Linked DNA regions of Homo sapiens: region 2 is linked to region 1. The links are contacts of gene promoters, found by promoter capture Hi-C in blood cells and fetal thymus (Javierre and others, 2016). All regions are on one chromosome and are shown on one strand. Each heading gives the region's core, a stretch centred on a gene start or on the middle of the fragment in contact. The rest is flanking DNA. Distances are from core to core; before and after follow the strand shown.

Evidence for each region. Contacts are between HindIII fragments. The CHiCAGO score rates a contact against its expected background, and 5 or more counts as called.
Region 2: a fragment that was not itself captured here is called in contact with the fragment with the promoter of DUOXA1 in region 1 in 2 of 17 cell types (naive B cells and erythroblasts); the score reaches 6.5 in naive B cells.

What each region holds. Positions count from the first base shown.
Region 1 is chr15:45,128,546-45,131,547 of GRCh38, reverse strand. It overlaps DUOXA1 (dual oxidase maturation factor 1), which reads left to right and starts at 1,669. Exons shown (of 9, transcript NM_001276266.2): 1 at 1,669-1,696; 2 at 1,933-2,088; 3 at 2,414-2,530. DUOX1 (dual oxidase 1) reads right to left here and starts at 1,554. Exons shown (of 34, transcript NM_175940.3): 1 at 1,450-1,554. The HindIII fragment of the contact is 6,225 bases long and covers 1,132-3,002 here.
Region 2 is chr15:44,588,181-44,591,475 of GRCh38, reverse strand. SPG11 (SPG11 vesicle trafficking associated, spatacsin) reads left to right here. Exons shown (of 40, transcript NM_025137.4): 28 at 2,062-2,224. Among named protein-coding and RNA genes, the nearest start is that of EIF3J, 53 kb to the right of the region's middle. The HindIII fragment of the contact is 834 bases long and covers 1,210-2,043 here.

The DNA.
Region 1 (3,002 bases), core at 420-2,919:
CTCAGTGCTGCTCCCAGTCCACTGTGGGATCTTAGATAAATCACTTCTCCAATCTGATCCTTGTTTTCCTCTTCCAGCTATGGGAGCAAATATGCCTGAACTGTTTACTTCTAAGCATGGTTGCCAGAATCAAATGTGAGAAGGAGGTTTAATTCAAAGCAAGTGACAGGTGTTGGGCAAATGTGATATAGAGAGGGTAGGCGGGAGCTTGTCTCCTCTGGTTGGATCCAGAAGGGATGCACTACCAGGTGCTCATGTATTTAGTGCAAGCTTCCTGCTCTCTCTCTCTCCACCCAGAGTCAACAGGGAAACAGAGGCAGCAGAGGACTCAGGCTGGGACTCCTGAGTGCGAGTAAGGAGTACCTAAAGCCGGCGAAGACCTCCTGAAGGCAACCTGGAGATTGGGGTTAGGATAGAGGAAGAAAGGAGCTCAGGGAAAGCCTCATCCCCAGCCAAACATCAGGGTTCCTGGATGGGTTGTCTAGAGGAGAGAACCCAGGGAGTGACCTCATCCCTACTCCATCTCCTATTAAATGAAAAAACCTAGGCCCTGCCATAACTGGAAAGCTCAGTATCACCTGCTGCATTTCACAGAGTCTGTCCAGGTGCTGGCCTTTAATAGTGCATGAAGAGCTGGGCTCTGGATGGTTGAAGCTGTAAAGCTGGATATACGGAAGTAGCCACAGCGGTCCTTCCCTGATCCCAAGATGTCATTCCCCTCCCCCGCCACCACCATGTCTTCAGGATCCTGGGCCTCAACGCTAATGTACCACTCAGCCCCTAAGGGCATGAAATGGGCTTTCAGACCAGGCTGTGTGGGGATGACCTGAAGAGGAAGGTGGACATGCTTAATAACCACTCCTTGTGGGTGGGTTGCCCTTAATGATTTACACAACGATGGGGCAGTAACTTCTCAACAACCTTGACAGGAAGGTTGCCCAGGACAGGGCAGTGAAGCCCCAGGCAGAGCCAGCGGCAGAACCAGAGAGAGAACACAGGCCTGCCTGTTCTTGCCCCACATGGCTGCTTTTCCAGCCTGAAGCCCTAGAGTGGTGACCCTGGTGGCCCTGAGGTGGGAGGAAGATGGGTCAAGGCCATCTTGGTCCTAAGGGAGGGCTGAGGGGGAAAGCTTGGATCCTAAAGCCCAAAGCTCCCTCCCTGGTATGTTGTGCTGGTGCCAGGAGAAGAACCCGCAGGCCCAGGCAAACTAGGCCACCCAACATTCCCAGGTCCCAAAGAACCCAGTCTCTCAAAACCTTGATTGGGCAGAGGACAGGCCCTAACAGGACCGGTTTTAGCCTTAGGATAAGATCGGAGGCGCAGGGGGCTAGCATTCCCCTTTCTTCCATAACGTGGAGGAGCTGCGGCTCCCCCGCCACCCTGCCCTTGGAGCTCCCTCCCCCGGAGCGCCCAGGCCCGCGGGCCGGGAAAAGCCCTCCCAAATCTGACCTGCGGCCACGGCGTCACCAGAGCCCGGGACTGCAACTTGTCTCCGGCCTGGCTGCCAGCTGGGCCCGCGGAGCCCTCTCTCGTCCGGTGCCTCTGCAGCTCTGCGCCGGGACGGGCGGGGCTGGGGGTGAGGAGGGGAAGGCACGGCCCGGCTCGGCTCAGCCACGGGGCGGGGCGCAGTGGGGCGGGATGGAGTCTGGCGCCTGGGGAGGCGCGGAGGTGCTTCCAGCGGACGGCAGCGCGCGAGGTGAGACGGCGAGGGCTCCCGGGGCGCAGGTAGAGATGTTCCGTCGGTGCCGAAGGCCCGGCTAGTGCGGTTGTGTGGACGGCGAAAAAAGCAAGTCCGCCTTCACAAGTCCCATGGGGCTGGGGAGAGGGTGGGAGGCGGAGAGGGTATGGGGAGGGGAGACTCTCCTCAGATCCTCTCGACACCGTCGGGTCTGGGCTCCAAGTCCAAGGCCATCGATCACCTGCCACCCACAGACCAGGCCAGGCGTCAAAGCAAGTCACCCATCCGACCTAAACCCCTCTAAGACCCCGGAGTCACGTCTCCCTCCGGGGATCCTCGTGAGGTCTTGGGGGTCCCACCGCCCTGCGAGCCGCGCCCGCGCCCCGCCAGACCCGGAACTGCGTCGCTAGGTTTGCGCTGGAGCTGCTGGGATTGCTGGGCATGGGTGGGGGGGCGCAGAGGAGGAGGGGGGATTGGAGGGACCTCTGCGGAGCTGGCAGACCCCGGTACTACTGTCCTGGCGCACCCAGCCCTTCTCTGTACCAGGCCGGGAGAGGGAGGCGGCGCCGCAGAGCCTCGGGTGCAGTCTGAGAAGTTTGGGAGTGACTTGAAGAGTGACTGGAAGCACCCCAGACCCGGTTTGTCCGGTCACAGCCGGGTCCTTACGTGAGTTAGGAGAGGAGTGGGGGTCGGACGGGAGCCCCACTGAGAGTAAGGGCGCGCGTTTGTTCACAGAACGTCGGGACCTGGTTCCCTCTTTAATCACACCCCCGGGGGCGCTTCGTGTGAGGTTCCACGGGGGAAGGCGAGAGGCGCAGGCTGCCACACACGCACTGTTTGGAAGAGGGGAAGGTAGGGAATAGTGGTCCGGGTGTGGGTGGTGGGGGATGCGGCTGCTTAGATCTGTGCGGTCCAGGTGATTTTGGAGGGGGTCTTGAAGTGCTTGCTCCCGCCCTGGCACCTAGGGCTGCACTTCCTGCTTTCATCCAGACCAAGTTCGGATCAAGTGGGAGTTCTTCAAAGAGAGAGTTTGGTAAGAAACTGGGGAGGCAAGGAAAACCTCTTAAGGCCATAAATGCCACAAGGTTTATAGACATCGAATCGCCATCCCAGTTTAACTCGAGTCTGGATACTTTGGCTTGCATGATTCTGCACCCTTGAATTCCTTATCCACATCAGCCCTTACTGGGGAATCCTGCCTCCAATCCACTTTTCAGATCTTGTTCAATTTCTCCACTTAACTCCTATTTTTGTGCAACAACACACATATACATTCATACACAGATACACACGTACACACAGACCCCTTCCTTGAAGAGGAAAG
Region 2 (3,295 bases), core at 377-2,876, 540 kb after region 1:
TCTTCTTAGAGCAACAGAGTTAGGTATACAAGTAATTAAATAAAGACTAAGCACTAATGCCCTAATCCCAGCTAATTTTAACAAGGACACTCAGGAGGATAAAGAATCAAGAAGAGAAATATTTTTTAAAAAAGAATAGAAGTATTATATAACTTTTGTTCTTCTAAACATCAAAATCCAGTCAGAATGGTTATAGAAAACATTCAGGAACAGTGTCTAAGCAGGAATAGTAGCAATTTAGTGAGCTGACTACCAGTGTTCTTTCTCATAATAATTCCCTTAAACAACTTTGCATTAAGGGAGATGCTGCAAAAGCAAAATGATCTTTTTACTTAGAGTAGGTAAGTCCTATTGGAATTTAAGAGAAGAGGATGAGAAATGGACAGGGAGGACCACATAGGGCATAGGAAAGACAGTAGAGAAGGAAATTCATTCCAAATAGAGGTAAGAAGATAGCAGTAATGTGACACATGATTTTATAAACCATTCCTTAATTTAAGATCTTGGCAGTCTTGAGAATTCCATTGAAGGGAATATTGTCTTCTAAAACCTACGTCACAGCCAAAAAGCCCTGCATGTTAAACTTACCTTCAGAATGACTTTTATGGTGTGTTCAGAAGTATACAGGAAGTATTCAGCCAAGACTAGGGCCTAACTCAGCACTAGGCACAGAGGTACTGAATTATAAGTTTTTGGTGCCTATTAACATATACGTGTTTTGAAACCCGGCAGTTAAGTTTCTATTCCACCAAAACGCCCAGTATTTTTTGTGATTATGTTGTATGAAGTCTAGAGTGAACTACGAGACTATAGTGACTGAGAACCAAATATTAGTCTTCCAAAAATAATACGAAGCAAGAACCAAAGTAAAAATCAGGAATGAAGTCACAAAAGAAGCATCTGTTGGGCGCTATCATCATAGCTGTAATCCCAGCACTCAGGGAGGCAGAGGTGGGAGAATGGCTTGAGGCCAGGAGTTCGACCAGCCTGGGCAACATAGTGAAGACCCTGTTCTTTACCAACACAAAGGAAAGAAAAAAAAACAGCAGCAGCAGGTAAGAAAGCACCACTCCTCTGAAATCAGCCTTTTCCTGCAGCATCCTAGAAGATATTTTTGCCACACCTACTTGTAGAAATGCAGCCTGCCACTTGAATTCATCTTCCTATTAATATTTTTAGCATTCAGTTGAAATGATGTAAATCCAAGCTTCTTAACTGAGACCGTTCTCTAACAAGAATAAACTACAAGCAAAGTGGTAGAACTAGCGAAGTAATGTTAGGCACGTCTTTCTAAGCGGTTTTTATAATGTGAATTTAAAATCCTCTGGATTCAAGGGCAGGCCTACATCCCTCTTTAAAGAAGTTGCTAGGCCAGGCACGGTGGCTTACGCCTGTAATCCCAGCACTTTGGGAGGCCAAGGCAGGCGGATCATCAGGTCAGGAGTTCGAGACCAGTCTGACCAACATGGTGAAACCCCATCTCTATTAAAAATACAAAAAAATTAGCCAGGCGTGGTGGCGTGTGCCTGTAATCCCAGCTACTCAGGAGGCTGAGGCAGGAGAAATCACTTGAAGCCGGGAGGCAGAGGTTACAGTGAGCCAAGATTGCACCACTGTACTCCAGCCTAGGCAACAGAGTGAGACTGCGTCTCAAAAAATAAAATAAAAATAAAGAAGCTGCTAAGTGAAACATCTGGTTAATTTTACAGTGACTCAAAGGGCTATTAATTTGACAGTCACTAAGTAGGAATATTTTACATTAACTCTGTAGTTAGCATTCAGTCTTTAGGACTCTTGCCCATCTTTTTCACACATGCAGCTCTATACCAGAACTTTCCACAAAGAGACAATGTGCAAAGCTGCTGAGGAGGGCTTGTTTTTGCCAGTCCTCTGAGCCCCATTACCAGTTCCTGCCATTTGGAAAGGAACTGAGTAAGTGCCTCATGACAGGCGATGGCTTTTGAGGGAATTTTAGCTTTCTTAGAGGTTCCCAGATTTGGAGGTTTTGATTTGCTATTCTCATGAAACTGCTTTCCCTAAGCTTCTCTTTTTCTTTCATAGCTTAACACAGCAGCCACAAAGGTCCACCCTGTCATCCCTGCCATGTGGCTGGAGGATCAGGTGTGTTTCCTTTTGAAGCTTATGCTACAGCAGTGTAAGACCCAGTATGAGCTGGGGAAGCTTTTACAGCTCTTTGTTGAAAGAGAGCATCTCTTCTCTGATGGTAAGACAATCCTTACAGTTAAGTTGCTATTAAGAAGTTAGCTTTCTTAATCTTGAAAATACTTTAGAGGGGTAGTTAGGAAATTAAAATGCATGTAACATTAACTTACAGTCTACAACTGGGAGTAAACAAGTTACAGAGAACTTTAAATTGTGGTTAAAATATTCAAGAAATAATACAACAGCATAAAACATAAATGATATAACCAATCATCTCATTCTAAGCAGTTACCAAATAGCCACATTTCCTCCTGGCTGGCTTCTACATTACCCTGTTGTGGGGGTCCAACCCACAGACGCTGACCTAGCAACAGATCAAGACATACACTGACAGAGATATTTTGCCTGTCAGTCCAGCTAAGGGGCTCTGCTCTGAGTCTGGAGCATTGCTTCATAAGCTGGCAAAGTTTGCATTTATTTAGTACAGATTAAATGGCAAAGGTTTTGAGTAAACACCATTAGACGGTAATTAACATTGCCGATCCCCTGAGTAGAGAGCAATTATGTACCCGCGGTTGATCAAAGGTTGGTCTTAGGACCACATGAGTAAACAAGCTATTTAGATATACTTCCCCACATTCCCTTGTTATTTGCTTTTTTGCTATCAACTAAAGGTAAAGAGGATTAGGCTGCCTTCAGCCAAATCTGTCACTGAAGCTATGCAAACGGCCCAGCCTTCTGAGAAGGTTTGTGTTTATTTCCTATAACTATCTTATATAATTTTTCCTATATTAGTATATAATTATTCTTATATAATATTTCCTATAACTATTATAGTTTTTCCTCTACAATTTTTCCCACCACCCTGACTTAACTCCCACACCCTGTCACTATCTTCTTCTCTATGGCAAGTAACCTTAGCATTGCTCAGGGTCACAAACCCTATTTCAGAAATGCACAATTCATTTTTAAAGTTTCAGAGAAAATTGTGCTTGTTTTTTTGTTTGTTTTTTTTTTTGCAGATTCCTCAAGATGTTGGCAGTCTCTAAACTTGTTGCTGATTGACTCAAACAAATATTGCCTTACTATCTTTTCCACTTGTTTGATAATTTCAAGTTTTTTATTGAATGAT